2 separate regions of the Homo sapiens genome follow, and region 2 is linked to region 1. The links are contacts of gene promoters, found by promoter capture Hi-C in human tissues and cell types (Jung and others, 2019). All regions are on one chromosome and are shown on one strand. Each heading gives the region's core, a stretch centred on a gene start or on the middle of the fragment in contact. The rest is flanking DNA. Distances are from core to core; before and after follow the strand shown. Region 1 holds the start of NEU2 (neuraminidase 2). Region 2 overlaps SNORC (secondary ossification center associated regulator of chondrocyte maturation).

What was found. Contacts are between HindIII fragments. The study calls those that stand out against the background at their distance.
Region 2: a fragment that was not itself captured here is called in contact with the fragment with the promoter of NEU2 in region 1 in 1 of the 25 tissues and cell types used here (spleen).

Annotation. Positions count from the first base shown.
Region 1 is chr2:233,030,328-233,034,859 of GRCh38, forward strand. It overlaps NEU2 (neuraminidase 2), which reads left to right and starts at 2,345. Exons shown (of 2, transcript NM_005383.2): 1 at 2,345-2,545; 2 at 3,789-4,532. The coding sequence starts at 2,345. The HindIII fragment of the contact is 19,695 bases long and covers 1-4,532 here.
Region 2 is chr2:232,870,715-232,875,319 of GRCh38, forward strand. All of the region lies in intron 1 of SNORC (secondary ossification center associated regulator of chondrocyte maturation), which reads left to right. Among named protein-coding and RNA genes, the nearest start is that of SNORC, 2.8 kb to the left of the region's middle. RefSeq lists an enhancer at 1,480-2,245. The HindIII fragment of the contact is 7,170 bases long and covers 1-4,605 here.

The sequences.
Region 1 (4,532 bases), core at 1,095-3,594:
AGCCACTGTGCCTGGTCACATATCTCAATTGTAAGCATTGAGAGTGGTTCTCTTCTTGAGGGTGGGCCAGCCAGTGGCTTTGCTCCCTAGTTCTAGCCTGAAGCCTCTGTTCTCTCCCTTGCCCCATCTTCTCTCTAAGGCATGAGCCACCAGTTCTGGTCACACTCACCTCATGGAGCCCATCAGCCCGGTTTCCTAGGCCTTAGGCTGGACCCCTACTCAACCCCAAAGGCCTGGTGTGTGTCTTGCCTTGTGATTCCTCCCGAAGACGTCTCTGTCTTGTTTTCCCTCTAGAATGTCTTTATAGATGTCCTCAGCTGGCCGGGCGTGGTGGCTCATGCCTGTAATCCCAGCACTTTGGGAGGCTGAGGCGGGAGGATCACCTGAGGTCAGGAGTTCGAGACCTGCCTGACTAACATGGAAAAACCCCGTCTCTACTAAAAATACAAAAGTAGCTGGGCATGGTGGTGCATGCCTGTAATCGGGAGCTTGAGGCAGGAGAAGCACTTGAACCTGGGAGGCGGAGGTTGCAGTGAGCCGAGATCTCGCCATTGCACTCCAGCCTGGGCAACAAGAGCGAAACTCCATCTAAAAAAAAAGAAAAAAAAAAAAAGATTTCCTCAGCTAAACTTCTTCTCTCCTTTCCTCCCACATTGTGTAGAGAAGGCCAGCCATTGTAATCCATACAGAAATTTTGGCCCTGAGGACATTTTAAATACAAACATTTTAAACTGAATTATACCAACTCTGCTGAATTTCCATCAAGGACACTTTCCAGAGCCCACTCTATGGAGCTTAAATAAATCCTTGATCAATTTTCCAGAGAACACTGTGAAACTGCACAGTTCTCCATTTTCATTTTTACTTGTTATCATATTTGATTCTTTCCTGCTGACATTTTCTAACAGCGTTTCAGCATAGGCCTCCCGATACCTATCAAGGCCTGTGTCCTTGGATTATAATTTGGTGATTCTATCACCAAGCCATGAATCTCCCACCGAAGTTCAGGGAATAGCACATTTTTTCCTTGTGCAGCTTTTGCCCTTCTCAGTTTTATTTTCTCACATCGTCCTAATATTAACGTTCACTGTGGTTGAATGAAAGACTGATAGATTACATTTATTTCTCAAAGAAGCTAAGTTTTAAATAGATAACGCATGCATGTGGTAGAAAAATGAGAGCAGTACAAAAGGGTGCACAAAGGCAAACCTTGCCCCTCTTGCTGGCCTCTTGCCCACTTGCCCTCTGCAAAGGCTGTGTCTCAGACGGGGTGCCCAGGACGCCGGCTCTGACACGGAGACCCACGGCAGGCAAGAGCCTCTGGGGGAAAGGGAGGAGCAGCAGAGAAAGAGGCGGCTGTAATGCAGTCTCAGGGAAGGCCCAGCCGCCCGGAGGGAGCTCCGGAGCCGCACTGTTCCTGGTCAGGAGTTCAGGAAGAGGGTCTTCAGGCTCTGAGTGGACCAATCATCAAGCAGCCCTTCTTGGGTATGACCTGGGGCAGATTCTTCATCTGGGAACAACTGGCCCATCCTCCCCAGGCCAGGGCCCTGCAGCCAACACTCCCCAGAGCTGCGGGATGCATCCTCCTAAAGGGACCTAGGCAGCTTAGCCCGAAAATCACTGTCACCCACTGTCCCCAAGTTACCTCTGTCCCCTCCCTACCCTTTTTAGCTGAAGACTTATTTTTAATTGTTATTTTCTTAGACCTCTGGAGCACCCCACGCCCCCAGCCTGGGTTAGCTGTCAGGAGCCCCTGTCTCTTCCTTTCCCACTGCAGCGCCGCCCCCTCGCTGCCTCAGGGGGAGCCCACGCAGCAGCGGGGGCAGACGGGCCTCAGCCTCAGGCAGCCTGGGGAGCAGAGCCTTAGAAGCCATGCTTTTTCTTTTTCCTTTTCTTTGAAACAACTTTCTAGGGCTCTGGAGTTATAAAAAGCTCCCATGTGTCACTTTCTGGCATTTGGGCAGCTGCCGAATGCCACCCGGCCTGCACTGCTGTCCTCCCGAGGTTTGCCCCTGGATTGATGGGCTGGGTTTGGCAAAAGCAGCTGGAGGTTATCGAAAATCTGTTGTAAGGAGCATTGTTAACTTAGAATAAAAATCGAATCCAAAACACGCTTTTGCAATACCCCCTCCCGATATCCACCGAGGCAAAGGCAGAATTAAGAAGCAGGGTCTTGAGATGTAGGAAAGGAGAATGAACCCCACGCGGGAAGAGGACAGGCCGCCCTGACTTTGGTCCACTCAGCCAGGGGGTGAGCACCACCTGTCTTGGTGAATGACTCTGAGCCCATCTCAGGTGTGGCTGCAGGTGACACATCTTCTCTTCCTGTCCACCCCCCAGCCCCATGGCGTCCCTTCCTGTCCTGCAGAAGGAGAGCGTGTTCCAGTCGGGAGCCCATGCCTACAGAATCCCTGCCCTGCTCTACCTGCCTGGGCAGCAGTCCCTGCTGGCCTTCGCGGAACAGCGGGCAAGCAAGAAGGATGAGCACGCAGAGCTGATTGTCCTGCGCAGAGGAGACTACGACGCACCCACCCACCAGGTTCAGGTGAGGCAGGAGGTGTCTGCACTGGCTCCCCAGGGCTCTGCCACACCCTTTGCTGCTGTGATCAGGGGCCAGTCCTGGATCTCAAGAAATACAGGGACAACTTTATCCCTCAATGGCTGTACTCCGGAGGAGAGATAGAGCAGAGAAAGTGCCCCTAATGGTTCCCTGGACCTCTGGGTTCACTGTGAATTAGTCCAGCTGGCCTCCATCTGTTTTCATGAAAGATTGAATGAGTTGCCCAGCATCCGTGATGACCTCACGGAGGAATAGTTCAGTGTTGCATAATGGAGGGTTGTGTCCTTTGAGTAAAATTAACTTGGGGACTTGGGGTGGGGTGATGGCTTGTGTCCTAAAGTCCCATTTTATAGATTAAATAATTAATCCTGATGACAGCACCCAAGGCTGGCTGATCATATTTGAAGAGTTTAATATTATTATCATTCCTTTGTGGTCATTACTACACAGCTGTTCAAAGCATGGGATTTGAAGCAGATGGACCTGGGTTCAAGTCCTGGTTCCGCCACTGACCACAGATGTGGCCTAGGCAACTCCTCCTCCCTGTCGCGGTCTCTTGCTCACTGTAATAATGGAGCTACTAACACCTGTTCCCTGGGGATTGAGGCATTAGATGAGACCATGGATGTTAGACTTTTGGTGCTGTGTCTGTGCTTAGAATTGCCCAATGGGGGTAGCTGTTAATAAATGGGGACAGACAGCACATGTGACATAGACTTGGGGATTCTGGAAGCTCAATGTGACTCCTCCTTGGCTACATGAGTAGGATATGGAGTGTAGAAGGTGAGAGGTGACCGTCACATTCTGTCTTGTACTGGTCAGGTTATTGCACCTTCCGCCAGGGCTTTGCTATTCAAGGATGGTGAGCTGGACTGGGGTGGGAAGTGGAGGAACCAGGATGAAGTTGGGAATGGCTCATGCACGAGTCATCTTCATATCTTGTGGTCTGGCAGGTGGGTGTTCTGTAAATGCATATTGATGGCAATGGAAGGAACAGAATCACTCAGCCGAGTGTGGCTGCCTTGGAGGGGTGAGGTGGCACCCTGGGCCCCGCAGCTCTGGGGAAACGTTGCAAGGAGGATATGAGTGTTGGGTGAAGAGTTCTTCTCGATGACTTTTGACTCTAACCCGGGAGACACACCCGTGCCCACCCCTCCCACTCATGCAGCTCCTGGCACCATCCCCAGCTGTTTCAAGGCTGCCTTCTTCTTTCTCTCTCCCTACTCAGTGGCAAGCTCAGGAGGTGGTGGCCCAGGCCCGGCTGGATGGCCACCGGTCCATGAACCCATGCCCCTTGTATGACGCGCAGACGGGGACCCTCTTCCTCTTCTTCATTGCCATCCCTGGGCAAGTCACGGAGCAACAGCAGCTGCAGACCAGGGCCAATGTGACGCGGCTGTGCCAAGTCACCAGCACTGACCACGGGAGGACCTGGAGCTCCCCCAGAGACCTCACTGATGCGGCCATCGGCCCAGCCTACCGGGAGTGGTCCACCTTTGCAGTGGGCCCGGGGCATTGTTTGCAGCTTCACGACAGGGCCCGGAGCCTGGTGGTGCCCGCCTACGCCTACCGGAAACTTCACCCCATCCAAAGGCCGATCCCCTCTGCCTTCTGCTTCCTCAGCCATGACCATGGGCGCACGTGGGCGCGAGGGCACTTTGTGGCCCAGGACACCCTGGAGTGCCAGGTGGCCGAAGTCGAGACTGGGGAGCAGAGGGTGGTGACCCTCAACGCGAGAAGCCACCTCCGAGCCAGGGTCCAGGCCCAGAGCACCAATGACGGGCTTGATTTCCAGGAGTCTCAGCTGGTGAAGAAGCTGGTGGAGCCGCCGCCCCAGGGCTGCCAGGGGAGCGTCATCAGCTTCCCCAGCCCCCGCTCGGGGCCTGGCTCCCCAGCCCAGTGGCTGCTCTACACTCACCCCACACACTCCTGGCAGAGGGCCGACCTGGGTGCCTACCTCAACCCGCGACCT
Region 2 (4,605 bases), core at 2,029-4,528, 160 kb before region 1:
AAAATCTGAAGTCTCCCAGGTCTGGGAGGCAGCTGGGGCACCAGGCACAGGACAAGCAGCTGAGGGGCCAGAGGAGTGCAGAGCCTTGCTGATTACTTTGAAAAGCTTCCCTGCTGGTTTCTGCGACGTCCTTAGAGAATGAGGACCCAGGTACTGTCCCCATCTGGGAAAAGGCTCCAGAGAGGGAGAGAATACAAGGCCCAAGATCCCTCTGCAAAACGGTGTGGACCTCTGGACTGAGATCAGAGTGGCGGAGTCTGGGGTCCCACGAGAGGGAGGCCTCTGGCAGGCTCCCAAGGGCCCTGTGGAGAGGGGAAGACTGGCCCAGGCTGGCTTCAGAGCCTGAGAGACAAAGGGCGCAGACGGGTTACAGGTGGTCTTTGCTCCTTTTGGCCGGGAGTTGGACCAAAGGGCAGCTGGCTTCTGTGTCACAGTAGCGGGGTTCAGGGACCCTGCAGCCTGGGTCTTCTGGAGGGCGCCCGTGGATCTGTGAGAAAGGTGGACCGCAGTCATGAGAGCATGGCCTGGGGAGAGCTTCTGGGGGACGACAGGCCTGGGGAGGCCCCCTCGGCCACACCCTGGGAGGTCTGGGTGACAGCGAGGAGCACCGGAGACTATTGGCTTCTCCCTGGACGCCCAGGAAGAAGCTTGAGGCCAGGGTGTGCTCAGTCTTGACCGGGCGGTTTCTTAACCTCTCTGTGCCTTCTCGTCATCTGTAGGATGGTGACACAGCCACGCTCTGCCTCACTTGCAGGGGTCTGTGAGGCCTCGTGAGTTCAGACGTGCGGAGCTTTTGGGATGGGCCCCACATCCAGTTAGCGCGAATGTGGATTCTGTGGTCCGAGCCCCTCCCTGGCACAGGGTGGTCTCAACAGAACTCTACTTCCTCCCGCAAGCTGGGAGGGCGCCAGCCTCCCTTGTGGTGGAAGAGGCGCCAGCCTAGGCGAGCCATGCGGTGTTCCCAGGATGGGGGGAAGGGACTTAAAGGGGAAGGTGGCATCTTCCATGGCTTGGATCCTGGGGCTGTGATCTTTGCAGCCCCCTCACTGGGAAGAAGCTGCTTCTCCAGCCTGGTGGTCCGTGTGGGCCGAAGGGGAGGCCCTGGCTCCTGCCTGCTGGGCCTGGGCTGCCTGTGGCTCCTGCCCAGGTTCCTACTCCTGTGTGGCTGACCCTCCTGGCCCAGGCTGCCGGCCAGAGTTCCCAGGCCAGACTGTCCCTAATCATTGTAGGCGGGTGGGCTTCCTCTGCCACCACAGGATGCCTTGGGGACAGCCAGGACCTCACCTGGCCTCACTGCCCCACTTCCCTCCATGTGTCCTACCAAGAGTAGGCAGGCCCCCCGCAGGGGCCAGACCAGGCCTTCCCAACCCCGGAGTCTCTGGGGTTCTGGCTGTTGTTCTTGCGAGAGCGTTTGACCCCACCCCTGGGCTGGGAGCTCTGGACAGGTGTGTACACGGCCCTGGGCTCTGTGGGCTGGGGTCCTGTAGCAGACAGGAAGGGAAGGAGCGGCCTTGTGGGCTGAGGCCCAGGCCCCATCTGAGGCACAGGCCCTCCCTGTTGGGGGCCTGTGGCCTCAGCTACTGAGGTGGGAGCAGGCCGGGCTGAGCGGGCAGGAGGCCAGGGCAGGGATGAAAAGGCCCTTCATGGCCCACACAAAGGCTGTCTGTGAGCAGAGGCGCCTGGCCTCAGGGCCCTGTGGTCAGAACACACTTATTTACCAAAAGGCAGGGCGGCTGGGGCCAGTGGGGCTGGGAGAGAGCCCGTGGTGCCCAGGCTTGTGGCAGTGCCACCAGCCCCTGCTTCCCTGGGTCAGAGCGCGTAGCCACACCACATGGCTAATTCTGGTCAGTGGAGTCTGGGCCTCATTACCGCCATGGAACTTTCTTGGGGTCCTCCGTGCCCCCACCTCTTTGCCAACCTCACTTTCTGTCACCCTGGCCTATTCACTGTCCGCCTGGCACGCCGTGAGTTCCGTCCTCCACACCTTCGCTCCTGCCCCATCTCCCCCCTCCCCAGACAGGACTCCTGCTGGGAAACTGCTCTGCTCCCAGCTTCCCAGAAGGATGGATTTGGGGGAAGATGGGAATTGCCTCTCAGCTTTGCTTTCCCTTCTTACTGGAGTAAATTCTAGAAACATAGATGAGGATAAGAAGTGCCTCGGCCCCTCCCTGGCAGCGGCACCCCTTTTCCTGGTGGATCGGTGGCTGAGTGCAGGCTGTCATTCCGAGCCTATGTGTCTGCCACTTGGGCACCAGCCTAGGTTGGCAGGGAGCTGGTGGCTCCTGGGGCCCTGGCCGCTTGGGTGCAGATGGGTACTGGGCCAGCCTGTGAGGGATTCCTGTGGCAGCCAGCGGCTGCAGACCCATAGCAACTGGGCTTGTGTCCAAAGGCGCACCCCAGGCCAGACGCAGCAGCTGAAGATGCTGGTGTTCACACAGTTACCTCCTTGTGCAAGATGCTTGACAGCATAGTCTGAACCCCCGTCTTACAGGTCAGGAAGGTGGATTGGGGCATGGAGCAAGGATAGGCCCCAGCCCTCCTGATTAGAAAGCTTCATGGCCTGGCTGGACAGGAGGGGGCTGTGTACAGTGGGAGGAGGCCAGGGCAGGTATGTCTGGTGGTGGGCGCAGCAGAGACAGGCTGGGTCACGGGGGACAGATGGGGACAGGGCCTGAGTGGGGCTCCCCACTGCCCTGCTCAGAGGGTACCGTCAAGGGTGGCAGCTCACCCCTGCTGGGCTGGCCTGGGTACTGAGCCCTGCCTTCTCAGGGGCTGGAGGCCTGCCACTCCTCGGCTGATTCCCGCAGATGCCACCCGGCTCAGCTGGGCCTGGTACCCAGAAGCCCTGCCGCGGCCTCCAGATGCAGGGAGGTGCCTACCTGCCAGTCTGTCTTGGGTGTGTCATTTGTCCATTTCTTTGGACATGTTCAGGCAGTCAGTGAGCCTAGACCCTGGTGCCTGCCAGGCGGTGGGCGCACTCAGGCCTTTTACCTGCCCAGCCCCCAGAAGCCTGAGGCAGCACGCCAGGGGCCTGGGGCCTTCCATGGGGACTGCAAGGCTGCAGACCCCTGCCTTTCTGGCTGCGACATGGGAGGCCTGGCTGGGTCACTTCCCCTCCTCTCAGGGTGGTCTTCAAGGTTTGCGGGAGGCTAGAGAGACATCAGTGCTACAGTGCAGCCTTGGGCCCCTCGGGAGGGAAGCCTCCCCCAGTTGGGGGCCAATGGGCCTTCCACCCATGGGGCCTCCTGCCAGAGGTCTTTTCTGGAAAGGGGTTCTGCCTTGGGCCAGCCCTGGGGAATGTGGCAGGTCAGGTGAAAGGTCAGCAAGCTGTCTCAGAGCTGAGCCTTGCAACTGACCTCTCCAGGCTTGAGAGAGGCCCAGAAGCCAGGGACCTGCTAACATTTTATTGTGGAAAGATGTGAAGTTTACAGAAAAGTTGCACAAATACTCCAATGAACTCCAGGAGTCCATCCACCTAGTCTTGCCAACTGCCAACATTTTGCTACATTGCTGAATCCTCTATCTGAATGCTGAAATCATTTGAGAGTAAGTTGCAGAAGTCATGTTCCTTTGCCCCTAAATTCTTCCTAAGAACAAGGACATTCTCTTAACACACCAGAGTCAGCTATCAAAACCAGGAAGTGAGCACTGAGGCAGTCCTAAGCCACACCCTGTTCAAACTTCACCAACGGACCTGAGTCTCCGATCACAGGCCTGTCCCTCCCCGTCCAGGAACATTGAGCTGTCTCCTTAGTCTCTGATCTGGAACCTTTCGGCCTTTCTTTGTTTTTCCTAACTTTGACATTTGGGAAGGCCCATTTACTTTAAGACTGACCCTGAGTCTGGGTTGGCTGATGTTTCTGCGTGGTTTGCCCTAGATGGACACAACTGGCCAGAAAACCCTGGAAGGACCTCTGTGTCTTCTCGAGCATCCGCCTCTCTGGGTGCTGGTGAACCTATGAGGAGGGCAAGTGTCTGGCTTGACTCTTGCCCCAGCGCTCAGGGATGGAACCCGCAGGGACAAAAGGTGCCCTAGGGTCGCCGGCTGGCCGGCAGGGTCTGTTCACAGAACGGCAGCCTCCCTGCACTGTTTCTGGGCAGCACAACCGCTCCTGCAACTGTCCAAGGCCTTCAGCCCACCTGTGCTCACCACCACGGCACCTTATCCCCAAGCCTTGGCTTTCTTGTCTCTGAAATGGGGATAAAAGCAGTTCCCACACCACAGAGTAGCTGGAGTCAAAGAGATGAGGTGTTGGGACATCCCCAAGCTCATCCAGGGAACCGGCTTGAGGGTCGAGTGTCCCTGGATCACAGTCTCTATCCCAGTTGAGATTAGAGCATGGGGCCGGCCGCAGTGGCTCACACCTGTAATCGCAGCACTTTGGGAGGCCGACACGGGTGTATCACCTGAGGTCAGGAGTTCAAAATCAGCCTGGCCAACATGGCAAACCCCGTCTCAACTAAAAATACAAAAATTAGCTGGGTGTAGTGGCAGGTGCCTGTAGTCCCAGCTACTCCGCAGGCTGAGGCAGGAGAATCGCTTGCTTGAACCCGGGAGGCGGAGGCTGCAGTGAGCCGAGATTGTACCACTTCACTCCAGCCTGG